2 separate regions of the Homo sapiens genome follow, and region 1 is linked to region 2. Evidence: promoter capture Hi-C in human tissues and cell types (Jung and others, 2019). All regions are on one chromosome and are shown on one strand. Each heading gives the region's core, a stretch centred on a gene start or on the middle of the fragment in contact. The rest is flanking DNA. Distances are from core to core; before and after follow the strand shown. Region 1 has its middle 6.4 kb from the start of CSNK1G2. Region 2 holds the start of OAZ1 (ornithine decarboxylase antizyme 1).

Evidence for each region. The method cuts DNA at HindIII sites, captures the fragments that hold promoters and counts their contacts. A contact is called where the count stands out against the background at its distance.
Region 1: a contact is called between a fragment that was not itself captured here and the fragment with the promoter of OAZ1 in region 2, in 1 of the 25 tissues and cell types used here (stomach).

Annotation. Positions count from the first base shown.
Region 1 is chr19:1,932,021-1,937,461 of GRCh38, reverse strand. No RefSeq gene overlaps it. Among named protein-coding and RNA genes, the nearest start is that of CSNK1G2, 6.4 kb to the left of the region's middle. The HindIII fragment of the contact is 4,225 bases long and covers 471-4,695 here.
Region 2 is chr19:2,266,707-2,271,903 of GRCh38, reverse strand. It overlaps OAZ1 (ornithine decarboxylase antizyme 1), which reads right to left and starts at 2,418. Exons shown (of 5, transcript NM_004152.3): 1 at 2,160-2,418; 2 at 374-519; 3 at 1-122. The coding sequence starts at 2,305. It overlaps LOC105372240 (a long non-coding RNA gene), which reads left to right and starts at 2,651. Exons shown (of 2, transcript XR_936242.3): 1 at 2,651-2,802; 2 at 3,032-3,411. RefSeq lists silencers at 577-916, 927-1,126, 1,337-1,396, 2,362-2,851 and an enhancer at 2,105-2,719. The HindIII fragment of the contact is 6,913 bases long and covers 1,166-5,197 here.

The DNA.
Region 1 (5,441 bases), core at 1,334-3,833, 330 kb after region 2:
TTCTGAGGCCGGGTTGGCTGGAGGGTCAGGAGCCCGGGGGCAGGGGCCAGACTCATGCCTCGCAGGAAGGAAAGCTGGGTCCTGTTGCTGAGGCCGCCGCGGGCTTGTGCCTCCAGCCACGTGTCTTCTTCCTGCTGTCCACCCTGGGCCTCCATTCCCCTTCCAACCCCAGGAGGAGGAGCACATGGGGCCCTGGGGGGTCATGGAGCCCAGATGAGGGACCGTGAGTCCTCAGGTCACCTGTGGAGCTGCCTGGGTCGCCGGCCTGGAGCAAGAAGTAAACGTCCACTGTGCCGGAGCCGCTACGCCAGGCGGGCCGATTTGTTAAAGCAGCTGGGCCTTATCAGTAACGTGCTAATACACAGGTGCAGCCCATCACAGATGCTGGGCTGTGGAACTCAGCGGTCGGGCAGAGCTGCCTTCAGGCATGGCTGCAACCAGGGGTGACTCAAGCTCAGTGCCTGTGGACCTTTCTCTTTGTCCTCATGTCTCTCTCTCTCTCTTTTTTCTCTCTCTCTGTCTCTATCTCTCTGTCTTTTCCTGTCTCTGTCTCTATGTCTCTCTTTTTTTTTGAGATGGAACCTTGCTCTATTGCCCAGGCTGGAGTGCTCGCCATCTTTCTGTCTATGTCTCTGTCTCTCCCTGTCTCTGTCTCTCTATTTGTCTTTCTGCCTCTTTCTTCCTCTGCCTCTCTCTCTGTCTCTCAAGCTCTCTGTCTCTGTCTCTGTGTCTCTCCCTTTCTCTTCCTCTCTCTGTCTCTCTCTCCCTTCCTAGCTCTGTCTGTCTCTATTTCTCCCTCTCTATCTCTCTCTGTCTCTGCATCTCTCCCTCTATCTCCAACTGTGTCTCGTCTCTTTCATCCTCTGTCTCCGTCTCTCTCTCCCTCTCTATATCCCTCTGTCTCTATCTCTACCTCTCTATCTCTCTGTCTCTCTCTCCCTCCCCACATCTCTCTCTGTCTCTACCTTTCCCTCTCTCTCTCCCTCTCCTTGTCTCTCCGTCTCTGTGCCTTGGCTTCATTCTTTCACTCCAAGCTTCTTCCGTCCGTGGTGGCAGCTGTGGCTTAGTTTAGCAACCCCCAAATAAAACAGAGCTCTTCTCTCCCAGGATCGCTATAAAATCCCAGGAAAGTCTCTTATTGTCTGGCATTGGCCCCTCCCAGATGACTGGCCAGGCCTGGTTTAGGCAATGTCCTGGTGACCAGAAGGGCAGGTTCCACGAGGGGCAGCGCCCTGAGAACACAGGAGTCGGGTGGGCCAGGTTCCCCACAGCAGGAGGAGTAGTTGCCGGGGAAGGGGAAGGACGCTGAGCAGATGACAACAGCTGCCTGCGACTTGGCGGCAGCGTTCAGAGCAGCTCCAGTGACAAAGGGCTTTCCCGCCTGGAGTGGCTCACTGCCCAGTCTTGGCCCTGCCAGCCTCAGTGGCCTCCCTGCAAGGGGACAGTCCTGGCCATCATCTCCGGGTCCAGCTCTGGACAGCAGGGATCAAGTGACTCATGCCCTGGGCTGAAAATGTACATGACCTTGCAATTTTCCTGAATTTGCTCCAGGAACAAGAGACAAAGCTAATTCCCAGGAAGAGGAGGAGGGATCTGCCCTGTAGTTGCCCTTGACCAGGTCCCTGGGCCTCAACCTTATCTATAAAAGGATAGAGTTGAAGACGGATTGAACTGCCAAATTGGTTTCCTCCTGGTGCTGCTCGATTGATTGGTGATGTCTGCTTTGTGCATGGGAGGGAAGCAGTGTGGGCATCATTGGTTGATTGGTGATGTCTGCCCTGTGCACAAGAGGAAGGAAGGCAGGACAAACAGCAGCGTTCCCCAGTCAACCAACATCATTGCTTGATTGGTGATGCCTACCCTGTACACAGGAGGAAGGAGGTCAGGAGAAACATCATTCGATGATTAATTGGTGATGTCTGCCCATGTTGCCATGTTGGCCAGGTTGGTCTCCAACTCATGACCTCAGGTGATCCACCTGCCTCAGCCTCCCAAAGTGCTGGGTTTACAGGCATGAGCCACTGCGCCTGGCCCGATTCTACAACTTTTTTCTATTTCCTCATTTTAGATCATTCCAGAACTTTCTGGGAATTACACCCAACAGTCTCTAGTAGGGCATAAACACAGACTTGGGGGAAAAGAAGACCTGTCTTTGCAGCCAGTGGCGACACCCCTTCCCAGCTGGGAGGCTGGGCCTGCCCAGCACTGCATTCCCATATGCAGCGCAGCCAACGGAACAGGGCGACGTCAGGAAGTTTTGGTGGGTGAGGAAGCAGCACAGAGCAGGGTCTGCCCTCACCCCCACCAACCGCAGGGACAGAGCCTGGCGGCAGTGGGTGGCCCCAGAGCCAAGTGTGGGGCACTGGGATCTGCCTCTTCACAGGGGCACGGGATCCAGTCAGAGGATGGGTGACTCTGAGAGAAGTTTCTCTCCTTTGTCTACTTTCTCTGCTGTCCCAGAGAATGAAGGCTCATCCTGCAGCGTCCTTTGAGGGTACATGGCTGTGTGTTTGTGTGTCTGTGTGGGATGCTGTGTGTTGATGTTTGTGTGTGTCTGTGTGTATGTCCATGGATGGGTGTATGTTTGTGTGTTTTGTGTGTCTGTCTATGATGTAACATGTTGGTGTGTGTGGATACATGTCCATGCATTTGTATTTTGGGTTTTTTTTTTTTTTTGAGACGGAGTCTCGCTCTGTCGCCCAGGCTGGAGTGCAGTGGCGCAAGCTCCACCTCCCGGGTTCCCACCATTTTCCTGCCTCAGCCTCCCGAGTACCTGGGACTACCGGCGCCCACCACCACGCCCAGCTAATTTTTGGTATTTTTAGTAGAAACGGGGTTTCACCGTGTTAGCCAGGATGGTCTAGATCTCCTGACCTTGTGATCCACCCACCTCGGCCTTGCAAAGTGCTGGGATTACAAGCGCGAGCCACTGCGCCCGGTCATATTTTGTGTTTCGTGTTTTGTTTTTCTGAGACAGGGTCTCCCTCTGTCACCCAGGCTGGAGTGCAGAGATTCAATCATAGCTCACTGCAGCCCTCACTTCCCAGGCTCAAGTGATCCCCCTGCCTCGGCCTCCCAAAGTGTTGGGATTACAGGCATGAGCCACCGCAACCGGCCTGCATTTTGTATATGTGTTTGTTGTTTTCCAGTGTGTATGTCCATGTACATGTGTGCACGGGTGTGTGTGTGTTAGGTGTGTCTGTGTGAGGTGGCATGTTGGTATGTGTGGTCCATGTGTTCATGCATTTGTGTCATATGTATCTGCGTACATGTGTGCATATGTATGTGTGTGCACATGTCTGTCTCTGGGTCTTTGTGTGCGTGGGTGTGTGTGCGCACCTGTGCATCTGGGTGTGTGTGTGTGTGTTCGTCGGTGGGTCTATGGGGGGGTGTGCATTTGTGTGCCTGTGTTTGGCATGCCTGTGTGTGGTGTGTGTTGGTTTGTGTATTGTGTGTGTGAGCATGTGAGTGCCTGCATGGGGGGTATTCAGGAACGCTGCTGTGAATGGCATCGCTCAGCGTCAGGGAACCGTCTTGCTCCAGGTTTTGGGCTGTTTCATGGAGGCTGGGGGATGTTCTTGTTGATGATGCAGCCCACTTGGACTTAACTTATTTTTGGTCATATTGCACCTAAATGGTCCTCCTGGCATTCACTCTGTTCATTTGCCCCTGGTGCCTGGGGACTCCTCCCATGGTGGTGACCAGGGTCTCTCCCACATCTCTTGTCACCAAGGCCAGCCACAGAGGGCAGCCTGCAGTGGACAGGGTGCAGGACAGGGCAACAATGACCATGATGCTTCATGGAAGATGTGAGCTCCCCCCAGGGAGCCTCCCATCCAGAGCCCCCACCCCTCAGCTCGATGGAATGCCCAGCCCCTTGGTGCTGCAACCCCAGTAGGAGGGTGGCATCCTGGACCCAGGCAACAGGGATGCTGCATGCCACAAACACTGAGACACAAAGAAGAAGTGGTTCAAAAGCTGGGTGTGATGGTCACAGATTCTTTGCTGCTCCTCCCACGGAAAGACACAGTTCATTTCCCCTCCCCTGAATGTAGCTGCTCCTGTGACCTGTTTTAGCAACAGAAGGCAGGGGAAGTGGTGCCTTGAGACTTCTGAGGGAGGGTCTTACGAGCTCGACAGTAGGCTGGGCATGGTGCTTACACCTGTCATCCCAGCACTTGGGGAGGCCGAGGCGGGCAGATCACCCGAGGTCAGGAGTTTGAGACCAGCCTAGCCAGCACGGTGAAACCCTGTCTCTACTAAAAATACAAAATTAGCTGGGCGTGGTGGTGGGCACCTGTAATCCCAGCTACTCGGGAAGCTGAGGCAGTAGAATCACTTGAACCTGGGAGGTGGAGGTTGCAGTGAGCCGAGACTGCGCCATTACACTCCAGCCTGGGTGACAGAGTGAGACTGTGTCTCAAAAAAAAAAAAAAAAAAAAAAGAACTCAACAGCGTCCTTTCTGCTTGGAACCCAGCTGCCATCTTGTGAGGCAGCCACCTGGAAGCCCCTGGGTGATGGCACCACTGAGCAGGCACCACCTGCCAGCCCTGTGAGTGAGCTACCTCAAACATTCCCGGCCAGGGAAAGCCACTAAATGATTGCTGATTACCCCCCATCACCACAGGGAGCAGAACTGCCCAGCTGAGCCCGGACACCCCGCATCATGTCAGATATAATCCACTGCCATTCTACCTTAGCCACCCCAAATCCCTAGGGCTGAATGAGGTCATCAAATAATGATTCCTCTCCCACTTTCTCCCCTCTGCTAGTCCCTGGCAGACTGGAGGATGGCCCAGAGGCAGCCAGGTGAGGGGTGACGCCCTTCAAGGCCCTGCTCCAGTGGTCCTCACCAACTACAACCGCCCTGCAGAGCCCCGCTGTGCCCTGCACCTGCTCCCCGGCCCTCATGCCGCTGCCAGGAGTGTCTGTGCTCATCTGTCTTCTCTCCCCTCCAGCCTGAGAAAGCTCCTTCTTCCCACCCCTTACCAGAAATATAAATTGGCCGGGCGCGGTGGCTCATGCCTGTAATCTCAGCACTTTGGGAGGCTGAGGCAGGCAGATCACGAGGTCAGGAGATCGAGGCCATCCTGGCTAACATGGTGAAACCCCGTCTCTACTAAAAATACAAAAAATTAGCCAGGCATGGTGGCGGGCGCCAGTAGTCTCAGGTACTTGGGAGGCTGAGGCAGGAGAATGGCGTGAACCCAGGAGGCAGAGCTTGCAGTGAGCCAAGATGGTGCCGCTGCACTCCAGCCTGGGTGACAGAGTGAGACTCCGTCTCAAAACAAAAAAAAAGAAAAAAAGAAATATAAATTTACTCCTTGCCCCTTCTGTGTTTCAAAGGAGGGTGGCTTTTCAAAGTCCCCACAATGGGGACAGCATTCGAGGCTGCCTCAATGGCTGGTTCCACTTCGCAGCCCCATCTATCCATCAGGAC
Region 2 (5,197 bases), core at 1,169-3,668:
CTGCCGCCACTCAGCACTGTTCGCCAGTTAATGCGTTTGGCGTCTGTGAGCCTGGACTGGACGTTGAGAATCCTCGTCTTGTCGTTGGACGTTAGTTCCTCTGTTACATTCAGCCGATCATCCTGTCCAGGGGGTGCAGCCCAATTCAGAACCCTGACTCACCCCACAGGACTCCAAGAACCCGGCAGCGCTAAAGCTTGGGCCTAGGCCGTGTTGAGCTCAGGCAACGCCTGGGCTGCAGGAGACTGTGCGCCGGCTCTGATGAAACTCAGGGTTCCCACGATTACATTCAATCACAGGTACGGGCAGCAAGGTGCACAAGAAAGTACCTGTGGCCCCAGAGCAGCCCCAGCAGGCCCGGCCCCATACTCACGGAGTAGAATAAGTTAGCTGAAAGATTGTGATCCCTCTGACTATTCCCTCGCCCACCTGGGATCTTCAGGGGTGGGTGAGGGGCATCAGGAGCACCACCGAGGCCCCGGACCCGGGTTACTACAGCAGTGGAGGGAGACCCTGGAACTGAAGATGATGCAGGTCACGAGGCAGCGCCAGGCTCCGGGCGGAGACCCCTCCAGGGCGTCCGGGCGGCCTTCAGCACATCCCCACCCCTGCCTCGGCCAAAAGACCCCGCCCCGCCCAGGCAGGGGCCCACCCGGTCCCACACCCCCGAGGCTTCCCGAAGGCAGCTCCAACGCCTGCCCCAAGCACCTACAAGGGCAGCAGTCACTGAGCCCCGACTCCTCGGGCGGCGCCGCCCAGGACAGCCCAACCTTCCCAGGGCGGGGGGCCCCTTCCCCTCACGCAGCCCCGCCGGGGCAGAGCCTCACCCCCCGGCCACCAAGACAGCCAGCGCTTCCCCTTTTCAGTTCTGTCGCGGCTTCCCCTTTCCACCCTGCACTACGGCCAAAATCTGGGACTCTTGCTTGTCCCCGCGAAGACCGGGCGGGCCTAGCCTGACCTCATGGAGGACGCGCCCCGCTCCGGCTCCCGGCCGCCCGCCCCCCCGCCCCCGCTCCAGGCCCGGGCCCTCCCGGTTGCGTCATCCAGGCAGACGCGGCCTCGCGCCCCGGGGGAGATTTTCACAATCGCGCAGCCGGCAGCGCCAGCAGCCATTTGCTGCGCAGGGTAAACAGGCCCCAAAGTTGCCTCCATTTTGCACGGCCCCCAAACCGCGGCACCGCCAGCACCGCGGCCCAACCTCCCGATCCGGGGCTGAGCGACGCCCACCTCGGGGGACGCAGTCGGGAAAGCTCGACCGAGACCCCGCGGGCTCCCCCACAACCGCAGCTGGCACCCGCGCCCCCGGAAGCGGGACGCGTCTTCCCGGGAAGCGGCGGGGGTCTTCCCAGGGCGCTGCCGGGCTGTCGGAGTGCGCCACCCCCAGCTCCCCGGCGGCCCCCGCGGAGAAGCCCTGGGTGCCGTCTACGTGCGCGGCCTCGCCCGGCGCGTCCCGGGCCATCCAGACCGACTCGCTCAGGGGCGAAAAACGGGGCCCACGAGGTCCGTCGCGTGCAGGGGCCACATCGAGGCAACAGGGACCCGCGGGAGCTCGTCCACCGCAAAGCGCTCCCCGCTCCCGCAGCGCACGCTCGACGGCCGGGACCGAAAAGTGCAGATTCACCAGCCCCGCGGGCCCTGCCTGTCCGCGGACCAGCCCCCCAAGGCCGACCCCGCCCCCAACCAGATTGCCCCATCCTGCGCCTCCCAAATCCGACCCGACCGCACACCCTTCCTCCAAACCGAATTCCCAGTCTGCGCCCCGCAAATCCAACCCTCGACCAGAAGCCTCTCCCCTCCTCCGAAGCCGAGTCCCATCCCGCGAACCCCGCAAAAGACACACGCCTCCCCCGACTCCCCGTCCTGCGCCCAAATCCGACCTCCGACCCATGCCCCTCCCGCAAATCAGGCGCCCCGGACGGTGCCCCCCAAATCCAACTCCGCACCCTTGCCCCCCAAACCCGACTCCCCCGAGAGCACTGCTAAGGCCGGGGGGGACCTCCAGGCCCGCCCTGCGCCTACCTCGTCCCCGGCGCGATTCTGGCCTTGACAAAGGGGCGGATCTCGCGCGCCGGGGACCTATCTGGCGCCCCGAGGACGGCCCCCCGCAGGCCTGCGCGGCCGGCGCTTCTGGAAGCTTCGGACGGGGGCGGGGCACTTACCTCTCACTGCTGCTGCCGCCGCGGCTGTGCAGGCTTAGGAGCGGCATGGTGCGGCTGGCGTGGATGGTGGCGCTGGGTTTATCCCCTTCCTTCTCTCTGGCGAAGCAGTGGCTATTGAGGATCCGCTGCAGGGAGGATTTCACCATCCGGCCGCTGGGGTCCGAAACCAGGAAAACCTCCGCTGCGTCTCTCCGCGCCGCCGCCGCTGCTCGCCGTTCGCAAAATGGCGCCTCTGCCGCCGCCCGCCTTTATAGATGCTGCGCCCAGGCCACGCCCCCCGCGCCGCCGGGAACGCGACCGCACGAGGGGCAGAGCCGCGGGGCCGCCGGGAAAAAAAGTCGCGCCCGCCCCTCCCAGCGCCTGATTGGTGAAAGGGAAAGGGAAAGGAAGAGGCTCTCTGGAGATTGGTTGGTGAGCCTCGGGCCACGCCCCCTCCTGCGCGCGTCCTTCTGGGGGCGGGGCTGCCGTGGCGCCGGGTACGCGCTGCGCGCGCCCCGAGCCGTCCCCGCCCCCACAATCGTGCCTTGGGGGCGGGGGCGGCTCGCTGGGGCCGATTTTCGGGGGTCTTCGAGTGCCCGTTTGTCTGTCGTGGTCCACGTCGCCCTCCCTAGGGTCCCTTCACGCAGCGGGACCCCTCCCCTGGGTAGGCCCCCGGGTGCTTGGGGGGTTGTCCAACCGCGCCAGAATTATTTCCAGTAACACCTGGTAATCATCGATGATATTACTGGTTTTATTTTTTTAAATTTGGTCTTGCAGTTCTTAAAATGCTTCCAGTGTTTAAAAAAAAAGAACTTCCAATGTTAAAGATATTCAAATTTAGTAAAATATTTCGTGTACAATTTGGACTTAAGCAAAAATTTTACTCCTTGCAGATAAATTCAGATTTTTCCTGTGGAAACTGAAACTTACCCTAAGGAAAAACACTACTCCTGGCAGTTAAAATTCAGAAACACATCTCATGTATGAACTAAAATGTGGATCTCCCAAGGAAAAAACGATTTCTTTGGTGGTCAAGTTCGGTAAACTGTTTCGCCTGTGAGGTAAAATGTGGACTTACCTAGCAAAAATATTTCCCCTCCTGGTTAAATCCAGAAAAAAAATCTCAGGTATGAACTGCACTTTGCTTTTAATAAGCAAAGATATAACTCTTGGCAGTCACATACGGGTACATAGCTTGTGTGTAGACTAAATTATGAATTTAGCAAAAAGTTGCCACTTTGCAGTGAGGTTTAATAAAATATTTTTTATTTCATGTATAAACAAAATTTTGTTCTTACCAAGCAAAAATGCTACTCCTGGCAAATCCTGATTCCTTTCATGGTTTTAATTTTGTTTTGTTTGCGACCGGGCCTGGCTGTCACCCAGGCTGGAGTGCAGTGGCGCAATCTCGGCTCGCTGCAACCTCCGCCTCCCAGGTTCAAGCGATTCTCCTGCTTCAGCCTCCTGAGGAGCTGGGATTACAGGTGCCCGCCACCACGCCCGGCTAATTTTTGTATTTTTAGTAGAGATGGGGTTTCACCATGTTGGCAAGGCTGGTCTGGAACTCCTGACCTCAGGTGATCCGCCTGCCTCGACCTCCCAAAGTTTGGGGATTAACAGGCGTGAGCCACCGCGCCTGCCTGTCTTTCGAGATTTCGTACTGCACCAGAAGGCTGTTGTTGCATCTCTGCTACGAGCATTCGCTATTCAGGTGTTGAGGCAGAAATTAACTCCTGCGGTTGACATTTGGGGCCGCCCTGGGCACTGCAGGGCGCTGAGCAGCGTCCCTGGCCTCCACCCACTCCATGCCTTGAGCACCCCCAGTTGTGACAACCACAAGTATCCGCAGACATCACCCAGTGTCCCTTGGCGGGGGCAGAATCACCCTGGGTGAGACTCCCGAGTTAGGGGATTCCACGGACCCCCCCAAGAGACTCTGCATCCCATGATCCTCTGCCCTGCTGAGGTCCCAGGAGACTGCGCACGTTGAAATCCACACCTTGAGGCAGAGGTTGCAGTGAGCTGAGATGGCGCCGCTGCACTCCAGCCTGGTGACAGAGCGAGACTCTGTCACAAAAAAAACAAAAAAAAAGCAATCCACACCCTGAGTGGGGAAGGAGAGAGGAGAAGCATCCCAGGAGCTGGGGGCCTCCTGGTTTATACCGTTTGCCCCATTAGGAGTTTATCCTGAGGCTGGGCACGGTGGCTCACGCCTGTAATCCCAGCACTTTGGGAGGCCGAGGCGGGTGGATCACGAGGTCAGGAGTGCAAGACCAGTCTGGCCAACATGGTGAAACCCCGTCTCTACTAAAAATACAAAAATTAGCTGGGCATGGTGGCGCGTGCCTGTAATCCCAGCTACTCAGGGGGCTGAGGCAGGAGAATTGCTTGAACTGGCACCCGGGAGGTGGAGGTTGCAGTGAGCCAAGATTGCACCACTACACTCCAGCCTGGGCTACAGAGCGAGACTCCATCTCAAAAAAAAGGAGTTTATTCTGGTGTCTGGTGTGAGCAGAGAACAGACTCTGTTTCAAATAATTAACTCAGGGTCTCCTCCCTCGGACCCGTGGACATTGGGCTTGGATTGTTCTCTGGGGTGGGGCATCCTGGGCAAATGGTATGAACCAGGAGGGCCCCAGCTCCTGGGATGCTTCTCCTCTCTCCTTCCCCACTCAGGGTGTGGATTGCTTTTTTTTTTGTTTTTTTGTTTTTTGAGACGGAGTCTCGCTCTGTTGCCAGGCTGGACTGCAGCGTCCTGGGCACTGCAGGGTACTGAGCAGCGTCCCTGGCCTCCACCCACTCCATGCCAGGAGCACTCCAAGTCATGACAACCAGAAATGTCCCAAACATCATCCAATGTCCCTTGGGGGCAGAATGACGCCCCTAAGTTGAGGACCTCCTCTGGGAACAGAGGCAAGAGCCTGCTCGAAATGAACAGGTCACCGGTGCGATTTCCAGAACAGCCACGACCAGGGAGCCCCATCCCTCCATCCTGACTGCAGCAGCTCTCACTTCCTCCTCCTGCCTGCCTCTGATGGCCGCCTGCCAATGCTGTGAGG